3 separate regions of the Homo sapiens genome follow, and regions 1 and 3 are each linked to region 2. The links are contacts of gene promoters, found by promoter capture Hi-C in blood cells and fetal thymus (Javierre and others, 2016). All regions are on one chromosome and are shown on one strand. The core of a region is centred on a gene start or on the middle of the fragment in contact, and the rest is flanking DNA. Distances in the headings are between cores, read along the strand shown.

What was found. The method cuts DNA at HindIII sites, captures the fragments that hold promoters and counts their contacts. A CHiCAGO score of 5 or more calls a contact.
Region 1: a contact is called between the fragment with the promoter of RGL3 here and the fragment with the promoter of TSPAN16 in region 2, in 10 of 17 cell types (neutrophils, erythroblasts, monocytes and 7 more). The highest score is 11.8, in neutrophils.
Region 3: a contact is called between a fragment that was not itself captured here and the fragment with the promoter of TSPAN16 in region 2, in 7 of 17 cell types (M0 macrophages, megakaryocytes, monocytes and 4 more). The highest score is 11.6, in M0 macrophages.

The regions. Positions count from the first base shown.
Region 1 is chr19:11,417,254-11,420,624 of GRCh38, reverse strand. RGL3 (ral guanine nucleotide dissociation stimulator like 3) reads left to right here and starts at 1,311. Exons shown (of 19, transcript NM_001035223.4): 1 at 1,311-1,379; 2 at 1,841-1,954. The coding sequence starts at 1,347. ODAD3 (outer dynein arm docking complex subunit 3) reads left to right here. Exons shown (of 13, transcript NM_145045.5): 13 at 1-20. The HindIII fragment of the contact is 8,157 bases long and covers 1-3,371 here.
Region 2 is chr19:11,294,794-11,298,443 of GRCh38, reverse strand. It overlaps TSPAN16 (tetraspanin 16), which reads right to left and starts at 2,284. Exons shown (of 7, transcript NM_001282509.2): 1 at 2,078-2,284; 2 at 105-302. The coding sequence starts at 2,146. RefSeq lists an enhancer at 1-251. The HindIII fragment of the contact is 19,527 bases long and covers 1-3,650 here.
Region 3 is chr19:11,376,055-11,379,425 of GRCh38, reverse strand. It overlaps EPOR (erythropoietin receptor), which reads left to right. Exons shown (of 8, transcript NM_000121.4): 7 at 648-735; 8 at 831-2,219. The coding sequence ends at 1,442. It overlaps SWSAP1 (SWIM-type zinc finger 7 associated protein 1), which reads right to left. Exons shown (of 2, transcript NM_175871.4): 2 at 3,257-3,371. Among named protein-coding and RNA genes, the nearest start is that of SWSAP1, 3.1 kb to the right of the region's middle. The HindIII fragment of the contact is 5,258 bases long and covers 1-3,371 here.

The DNA of each region.
Region 1 (3,371 bases), core at 62-2,561, 120 kb before region 2:
AATAAATGTTACCGACCATGCCCCTGGGTATTCATCTGTTTTTGACCCTGCACCACCCAAGAGACGGCTGTCCCTGAAAACCCAGGGCCACAGACTGCCTCCTCCAACCTGGGTCATGATGACTCCCATCAGCTAGTGACGCAGATGGAGCTTAAAAATGGGAGATGGCCCGATGTAGTGGTTTTATGCCTGTAATCCCAGTATTTTGGGAGGCTGAGTTGGGAGGATCACTTGAGTCCAGGAGCTCCAGGCTGCAGTGAGCTATGATCGTGCTACTGCACTCCAGCCTGGGCCACAGAGCCAGACCCTGTCTCAATAAATAAAATAAGGGCGGGGTGCAGTGGCTCATTCATACCTATATTCCCAGCACTTTGGGAGGCTGAGCTGGGTGTGTCGCTTGAGCCCAGGGGTTCCAGACTAGCCTGGGCAACATGGTGAAAACCAGTTTTTACCAAAAAAAAAAAAAAAAAAAAAAAAAAAAAAAAAAAAGCTGAGCATGGTGGCATATGCCTGTAGTCCCAGCTACTTGGGAGACTGAGGCAGGAGAATGGATTGAACCCAGGAGGCGGAGATTGCAGTGAGCCAAGATCAAGCCACTGCACTGCAGCCTTGGCAACAGGAGTGAGACCCTGTCTCTAAAAAATAATAAGGCTGGGCGCCGTGGTTCATGCCTGTAATCCCAGCATTTTGGGAGGCTGAGGTGGGCGAATCTCTTGAGGCCAGGAGTTTGAGACCAGCCTGGCAAGTATGGCAAAACCCCGCCTCTACAAAAAATACAAAAATTAGCTGAGCATGGTGGCGGCACCTGTAATCCTAGCTACTTGGGAGGCTGAGGCACAAGAATCCTTTGAATCTGGGAGGCGGAGGTTGCAGTGAGTTAAGATCAAGCCACTGTACTCCAGCATGGGTGACAGAACGAGACTCCATCTCAAAATAATAGCAATAATAATAAAAAGTGGAAGATGCCCCCACACTTGATCAAGCTAGCCCCTTCCACTGGAGGACAGAGGACTCTGGTCTGGGGACACACACATGCCCCCACACAGGAGCTCCCCCACATCTGGGGATACAAAAAAGACCCCTTGGGGACAGATATGTCCTTTCTTCTGGGGACAGATTGATAGGCACCCAGCGGAAGAGCCAGGACCTCTCCTGGGCTGGCGCTGGGTCCGGCTGGAGGCACCCAGAGGCTGGGTCCGGCCTGCCCTGCCCCGCCCCGCCCCAGCAGCTCGGCCGCTCCGCCCCTCTGGCCTCAGCGCCCGGCCACTGCCCGCCGCCCGCCACCCGCCACCCGCCGGCCCTTCCGCCTCACTCAGCGGCGCCACTGAGAGGGACGGGCGCCGGCCATGGAGCGCACAGCAGGCAAAGAGCTGGCCCTGGTAAGGGGACAAGGGATCCCCGGACCCCGCATCCCTGGTGACCCGCAGGTCCAGAAACTCCAAGCGCCCGCCCGTCGGACGGTATCTGCTCCCAATCTGAACTTGCCCTGGAGTCCCCTCCTGGGGACTCGCGGCCCTTGACCCAGTGAAGCGACTGGTTCCTCTTAGGGATGGGGGCGCGAGTCTCTGAGCGCAGTCGGCAGAAAGAGCTAGAGACAGGTTCTATTAGACTGGGCCCTGGGACATCCCCAAATGCCACCCCATGTCCTCAGGACCTGGGAGGAGGGGACCCGCAGCGAGGAGGGGACTAGCCTGGGACCCCAGCCCTAGTCTCGCAGCTTCTGGCCGGGAAGGGGCGTGGGGATGCAGCAGGAGGACTCGGCCCGAGTCCGAGCGGCCAAGGAGGCTGAGGCCCCAGGACCTGTGCCCCTTTGGTGCCCTGAGTCCGCCTGTGCGTCCAGGCACCGCTGCAGGACTGGGGTGAAGAGACCGAGGACGGCGCGGTGTACAGTGTCTCCCTGCGGCGGCAGCGCAGTCAGCGCAGGAGCCCGGCGGAGGGCCCCGGGGGCAGCCAGGTGAGGAGGGGGTTTGGTGGGTGGCGCGGGGCCGGAAGCGACCAGTTGAGGGCGGAGCTGGAGAGCCGAGCACAGGCCGCCAGGTGCAGTGGGCGGAAGGAAGGGAGGGGCTCGGAGGCGACCAGATGAGGCGACCAGGTAGAAAGGGGACTGGGGGCGGCCAGGTAAGTGGGGGGAGATCCAGGGAATGGGGTGGGGCCAGGCGATGGCCGCGCAGTTCCCGAGAGGAGCCTAGGGACAACTTGGTAAGGACAGAACTGGACGGCAGAGTTGGGAAAGGCAGGTTTAGAGGGCCGGGGCTGGAAGGTGGAATGGGGTTGGTTTAGAAGTGGCTAGGTGAGGGCGGATGGGGCAGCCAGTGAAGCGCGACAGGAGGGCTGAGGGAAGCCCTGGGTGGAAAAGAGTGTGTGGGGCGGGGGCGGGGGGGTGGGGGGAGGGGACGGGAGGGGGAGGGGACGGGAGAGGGAGTAGGGGACAGGGCATGGGAGAGGGAGGGTTTCCAGGGCAAGTTGCAGGAGCTATTTGTGGATGGGGAGGAACAATAACTTCAAGCGGGCAGGGAGTGGGGCACACACCTATAATCCCTGCGCTTCGAGAGACCAAGGCAGAAGGCCAGGAATTGGAGACCAGCCTGGACAACACAGCAAGATTCTCTCTAATAAAAATAAAAATTAAAAAACTAGCTGTGCGTGATGATGCCCAGCAGTGGTCCCAGCTACTCAGGAGGCTGGGGCAGAGGGACCGCTTGAGTCTAGGACTTGGAGGCTGCAGTGAGCTATGATTGTGCCACTGCACCCCAGCCTGGGCAACAAAACAAGACCTGTTTCTAAAAAAAACAAACCAAAACAATAACTCCAAGAAGCCGGGAGACAGAGGAATCACATGAAAGAATGGTGCTACAGGCGGGGCGAGGTGGCTCACGCCTGTAATCCCAGCACTTTGGGAGGCCGAGGCAAGTGGATCATCAGGTCAGGAGTTCAAGACCAACCTGGCCAAGACGGTGAAACACCGTCTCTACTAAAAATACGAAAAAACTAGCTGGGCTTGGTGGCGGGTGCCTGTAATCCCAGATACTTGGGAGGCTGAGGCAGAGAATTGCTTGAACCCAGGAGGCGGAGGTTGCAGTGAGCCAAGATCACGCCACTGAACTCCAGCCTAGGTGACAGAGTGAGATTCTGTCTCAAAAAAAAAAAAAAAAAAGTGGTGCTAGGGGCTGGGCACGGTGGTTCACGCCTGTAATCCTAGCCCTTTGGGAGACTTTGGGAGGCCAAGGGGGGCAGATTACTTGAGGTCAGGAGTTCGAGACCAGTCTGACCAACATGGTGAAACCCTATCTCTACAAAAATACAAAAATTAGCTGGGCTTGGTGGTGTGCGCCTGTAGTTTCAGCTACTTGGAGGCTGAGGAAGGAGGATTG
Region 2 (3,650 bases), core at 1,035-3,534:
AAAAAAAATAGGTGACACCAAGCAAAGTTGTTTGCAACACGCACAATAAAAGATTTGTGTGTGTGGGGAGGCAGTTCTGGGGTCTGTGTGCAGATCCAACTTACAAACAAGAGCGTGCCTCTGCTCTCTTTAGTCGCTCCATACCACCCGGCACAGCCAAGCAGTACCGTGATGCATCCCATCACCAGGCACAGGTTGCCAACGTGAAGGAGGTATGCGGAGGACAGCCCGAGGACATTCGTCAGAGAGGCCCCTCCACATTTACCACCAATGCCCAGGCCAACTAGGATGATGCCAGACACCTTTAGAACAGAAACCAGAAAGGAAGAAAAGTAATCTGTTAGTTGTATACAAATAGAACTGGGTGAGTGCGGTGGCTCATGCCTGTAATCCCAGCACTTTGGGAGGCCAAGGCCAAGACTTGAGCCCAGGAGTTCAAGACCAGCTTGGTAAGACCTCATCTGTACCCTCTCCCCAACAAAAAAAAAATAGCCAGTAGTAGTGCGTGCCTGTAGTCTCAGCTACTCAGGTGTCTGCAGTGGGAGGATCACTTTAGCTCATGAGGTTGAGACTGCAGTGAGCTATGACTGTGCCACTGTACTCCAGCCTGGATGACAGATCAAGACCTTGTCTCAAAAAATAAAATAGGCCAGCCACAGTGGCTCACACCTGTAATCCCAGCACTTTGGGAGGCCGAAGCAGGTGGATCACCTGAGGTCAGGAGTTCGAGACCAGCCTGGCCAACATGGCGAAACCCTGTCTCTACTAAAAATACAAAAATTGGCCGGGCGTGGTGGTGGGCACCTGTAATCCCAGCTACTCAGGAGGCTGAGGCAGAAGAATCGCTTAAACCTGGGAGGTGGAGGTTGCAGTGAGCTGAGATCATGCCACTGCACTCCAGCCTGGGTGACAGAGCAAGACTCCGTCTCAAAATAAAATAAAATAAAATAAAATAAAATAATGTCATAGGACAGGGATTAGCAATTTTTTTTTTCTGAAAAACCCAGATGTTGTGGCCTCTGCAGGACTTAAGGTGTCTGTTGAAACTACGCAGTTCTATTGGTGTAGCCCAAAAGCAGCTGTTCACAATCTCCAAATAAGTGAGCACGGCCATGTTCCAATAACACTTTATTTTGTATTATTATTTTTTAAATAGAGATGGGGATCTCACTATAGCTGGTCTCGAGCTCCTGGCTCAATGGATCTGCCCACCTCGGCCTCCCAAAGTGCTGGGATTACAGGCATGAGTCACCACAGCCGGCCTTAATTCTCTTTAAAATGTTACAAGTGAAGAGGAGGAGTGATATTTCATTTCCTTCTCTTTCCTGGCAGCTTTTCCTTAGACTATGCTACAATGAAGACAATTACTTCTTTTTATGTTTTTATTCTTTTATTTTTTTATTGAGACAGAGTCTCGCTATGTTGCCCAGGCTGGAGTGCAGTGACACAATCTCGGCTCACTGCCAACCTCTGCCGCCCAGGTTCAAGCAATTCACATGCCTCAGCCTCCTGAGTAGCTGGGATTATAGGCACGTGCCACCACGCCCATCTAATTTTTTTGTATTTTTAGTAGAGATGGGGTTTCCCCATATTGACCAAGGCTGGTCTTGAACTCCTGACCTCGTGATCCACCCGCCTTGGCCTCCCAAAGCGTTGGGATTACAGGCATGAGCCAGCGCCCCCGGCCTGACAATTCCTTAGCAATGTACATTTCGGGTTACTTTTACGGTAAGGAAAAAAATGTGACAAATTTAAAAGATCAAGAAAATAACCCTTTCTCCTGGCCTTCCCAAACAACTTGGTCGGCTACAGGATTTGACTTAGAGCCAAGCTCTTCCATCACCCACCTGGGCTCCCCCAGATCACACTCATCTGTGCTGGATTTCACCAGCTCTCGGTTGATGGAGGTCCCCACGCTCCCTGCTCCTCCTCCTCCGTCTGCCCTACATCCCTCCTGCTTCTCCAGGGAACCACAGATCTCGATGCCAATTTGGATCAACTTATTTCTGTCTTTCAGGGAGCTGACTGTGGAGGAAGGGCTGCAACAAACCAGGGGCCTGGATTGTGACATACTTACAGCCACGAAGCCATTGAGTAAAGATAACAGTTTCTTCAAGGAAGAATACGGAGTGTGGATTTCAGCCATGCTGAACAGACTGGGGCACCCTGAACATTTAAGTTAACATCTTCCTGAACCTCTGGGCTACTGTTTCCCAAGATGATAGGGATCTGAGGAAGGGGCGCCAATGCTGACTTGCTCTGCCCCTCTGTGTCCTGGCTGCCTGATGGTTGTCCAAGGCGGCCCAGCAGCTGCCCCCTGCCCTGGTCATAAGCCTTTTATCACATCACAATTGGGTTCTGGAGCAAGGCTCATGGTCCAGGGAAATCAGGTGCCCCAAACTGCCCCCTGTTGGCTCCTCATCCTTCAAACAGGTCACAGCAGGGAAAGAGAACAGGCATGGTATGCTACCCTGGTACCCTCCAGATGCCACCAGGACCCTGTGGGCATAGTGCCCAGAGCTAACCACTTGCACAGTTGACATCTCCTAGTAGACTGGGGGATCCAAGCGGGGGAGGGGGGAACTTGGGCTGTCCTATTAACAGCTGTGACCCCTGCCAGGCGCAGTGGCTCACACCTGTAGTCAAAGCATGTTGGGAGGCGGAGACGGGCGAATCACCTGAGGTCAGGAGTTTGAGACCTACTAACAATACAAACAATACAAAAATTACCTGGGTGTGGTGGCACACGCCTATAATCCCAGCTACTTGGGAGGCTGGGGCAGGAGAATCACTTGAACCCAGGAGGTGGAGGTTGCAGTGATCTGAGGTCGTGCCATTCCACTCCAGCCTGGTTGACGGAGTGAGACTCTGTCTCAAACAAAACAAAACAAAAACAAAAACAGCTGTGTCCCCAAAGCCTGGCACTGCAGTACTTAAGAAACCCGCGGAGAATGAATGAATGGATCCAGAGGCTCTGTGATGCAGAAATCTAGCTACAAGCCACCGGGCCTCCCAAGCCCAAGCCCATACTTGGCCCATCCTTCATACAGGGCTCAGAGAGGCCAAGGGAACTGCCTGAGGCCACACAGGAAGCAAGACCAGGCTTTGAAGCCCCAAGAGTAACATGAGGGCAGGAACCTGTAAGGCAGAGAGTCCTGGAACTGTGAGCCATTGGTCACTGGGTTTTTTTCTTTTGAGACAGGATCTTGCTCCATTGCCCAGGCTGGAGTGCAGTGGTGTGATCATGGCTTACTGCAGCCACGACCTCCCTGGCTCAAGTGATCCTCCCACCTTAGCCTCCCAAGTAGCAGGTCATTGGGCTTTTCTCCATGGTGATAGATGTAGTTAGCATTTCAGGACCAAAAACCTTCTGTATGTCAGCACTGAAGACCTCCAGGCCTAGATCCTGCAGTCTGTAGCCCACTTTGCCCCCATACCTCCCCACCCTAACCATAGCAGCTTCACATTGCCCCACCCCGATCCCCTCTCTGTCCAGCCCTGGGCTGGGGTGTGTCTGGGTCCAGGTCCTGCATGGATTGGGGGAAGGCGGATGGTTCAAATGGGAGAAAATACCTTACACTTTAATTAATTTAATGAATGTCTGTCAAATCGCCTGCTTCTTGGAACATGTAGAACTAAGCAAGATGTTC
Region 3 (3,371 bases), core at 352-2,851, 82 kb before region 2:
AGTTTTAGTAGAGACGGGGTTCCACCATGTTGGCCAGGCTGGTCTCAAACTCCTGACCTCAGGTGATCTGCTCACATCAGCCTCTCAAAGTGCTGGGATTATAGGCATGAGCCACCGTGCCTGGCTTGGATTTTATCCTAAATGCCTTCTCTCATTACCCCAGAAGGTAACATAATATTTATCTATGAAGTGACATCATGGACCTCCTGGAAAAATCTGGGCCAGGGTTTTGGGTTTTTTAATTTATTTTATTTTATTTTTTTTAGAGATGGGGGTCTCACTATGTTTCCTAGGCTGGTCTTGAACTCCTGGGTTCAAATGATCCTCCCACCTCAGCCTCCCAAAGTACTGGGATTATAGTGCTGGTGTAAACCACTGCACCTGGCCATGGCCAGGATTAAAGGGAGAATGACCAAGGTATATTGAACTCCTATGCACCCTTCAATACCCTGTTCCATTTACCCTTTTGTAGGGCCTTGCTGATGCTTCAGCCAAAACCCCTGTCCCCTGGCCCTGATGTACTCCTCTGCCTCCATTGTGATCACAGGGACCAAGTGTATCTGTGCCTCTATGACTGGGAGTGGAGGGGGAATTGGTGAGTATTCAATGAGTCATATCTATGTAACTATTTATATTGGCTTCAACAGGGCTCTGAAGCAGAAGATCTGGCCTGGCATCCCGAGCCCAGAGAGCGAGTTTGAAGGCCTCTTCACCACCCACAAGGGTAACTTCCAGGTAGGTGGCCTGGTTGTCCCCTCAGTGCCTGGGCTTCCCTGCTTCTTGCAGCCAAACTGCAGGCCTCTCTGAGCAGGTTGGTGCTATTTCTTCAGCTGTGGCTGTACCAGAATGATGGCTGCCTGTGGTGGAGCCCCTGCACCCCCTTCACGGAGGACCCACCTGCTTCCCTGGAAGTCCTCTCAGAGCGCTGCTGGGGGACGATGCAGGCAGTGGAGCCGGGGACAGATGATGAGGGCCCCCTGCTGGAGCCAGTGGGCAGTGAGCATGCCCAGGATACCTATCTGGTGCTGGACAAATGGTTGCTGCCCCGGAACCCGCCCAGTGAGGACCTCCCAGGGCCTGGTGGCAGTGTGGACATAGTGGCCATGGATGAAGGCTCAGAAGCATCCTCCTGCTCATCTGCTTTGGCCTCGAAGCCCAGCCCAGAGGGAGCCTCTGCTGCCAGCTTTGAGTACACTATCCTGGACCCCAGCTCCCAGCTCTTGCGTCCATGGACACTGTGCCCTGAGCTGCCCCCTACCCCACCCCACCTAAAGTACCTGTACCTTGTGGTATCTGACTCTGGCATCTCAACTGACTACAGCTCAGGGGACTCCCAGGGAGCCCAAGGGGGCTTATCCGATGGCCCCTACTCCAACCCTTATGAGAACAGCCTTATCCCAGCCGCTGAGCCTCTGCCCCCCAGCTATGTGGCTTGCTCTTAGGACACCAGGCTGCAGATGATCAGGGATCCAATATGACTCAGAGAACCAGTGCAGACTCAAGACTTATGGAACAGGGATGGCGAGGCCTCTCTCAGGAGCAGGGGCATTGCTGATTTTGTCTGCCCAATCCATCCTGCTCAGGAAACCACAACCTTGCAGTATTTTTAAATATGTATAGTTTTTTTTTGTATCTATATATATATATACACATATGTATGTAAGTTTTTCTACCATGATTTCTACAAACACCCTTTAAGTCCCATCTTCCCCTGGGCATAGGCCATAGGGATAGAAGTTAAAGTTCTTGAGCTTATTCAGAAGCTGGATCTGCAATCTGAATGCTACTCATAACATAACAAAATAGTATGTTAAACAGCTCTTAAATCTTACTGGCTTACCACATTAAATGATTTCTCTCTCCTAACTCAGCTCAAATGGGCAGCCATCCATGGGATGAGTCAGAGGTTCAGACTCTTCCAGTCTGTAGCTCTACCTTCTCTTAGGGTACTTAGATGGATCCCCTGTTCTACAAACTGCCAGTCAGCAAGGGAAGAAAAAGGGCAGCAATGACCCTCAATGGGCCATTTGAGGGATCTGGCCTGGAAATGGGCTTCCTCTCTTCTTCTCACACCTCACTGGCTGGAAACAGTCACATGACCCCAGTCACATGAAAGGCCAGGAAACTTAGTTTAGCTGTACACCCAGGAAGGGCAAAGCTGTTTAAGGGCCACTAGCTAGTCTCTGCCACTAATAATAATAAAAGTAATTCTGAATCAGGCCATGTTCTAAGAAAGTACTCTGATGACACTTGGTGTCAACAAGTAACTCAGTGGGAGTTTTGCTTTAACTACTTCTTTTTTTTTCTGAGACAGGGTCTCACTTTTGCACAGGCTGGAGCCCAGTAGCTCAAACATGGTTCGCTGCAGCCTCGACCTCCTGGGCTCAGGCGATCCTCCTGCCTCAGCTTTTCGAGTAGCTGGGACTACTGGCGTGCACCACCAAGCCTGACTGATTTTTTTTTTTTTTTTTTTTGAGACAGAGTCTCGTCTTCATCACCCAGGCTGGAGTGCAGTGGCTCGATCTCAGCTCACTGCAACCTCTGCCTCCCGGGTTCAAGCAATTCTCCTGTCTCAGCCTCCCAAGTAGCTGGGAGTACAAGTGCATGCCACCATGCCTGGCTAAATTTTGTATTTTTAGTAGAGACGGGGTTTCACCATGTAGGCCGGGCTGACCTCGAACTCCTGACCTCAGGTGATCCACCTGTCTCGGCCCCTAAAAACACACACACGTACCAGGGCATGTGTGCAAGAATGTTCGCAGCAGTAAATAAGGCAATCTGATGAAGAAATCAGGGTATAGTCACCCATGGAATTATATGCAATATGGAAAAAGGAATGAACTAAAAAAATGTAGATGAATCTTAGTAACAACGTTGAGTGCAAAAAGAAGGAAGTCTCAAACTTTTTTTTTTTTTTTTTTTTGAGATGGAGTCTCGCTTTGTCACCCAGGCTGGAGTGTAGTGGCACAATCTCGGCTCACTGCAACCTCCGCTTCCTGGGTTCAAGCAATTCTCCTGCCTAAGCCTCCTGAGTAGCTGAGACTACAGGCACCTGCCACCACACCCAGCTAATTTTTTTTGTACTTTTAGTTGATACAGGGTTTCATCATGTTGGGCAGGCTGGTCTCCAACTCCTGACCTCTGGTGATCTGACCGCCTCAGCCTCCCAAAGTGCTGGGATTACAGGCGTGAGCCACCACGCCTGGCCTGAAGCTCTTTTTATAAAGTTTAAAGCAATGAAACTATAAACAACATATTGATTGGGTAAAATATATACAAGATAATGCTATACTTTTAAAAGAGAAAAAGCACTTTACATTGTTTAGGTCTTTGGATCTGCATATGTCCCTGAGGTAAGTATTCCAGCCATG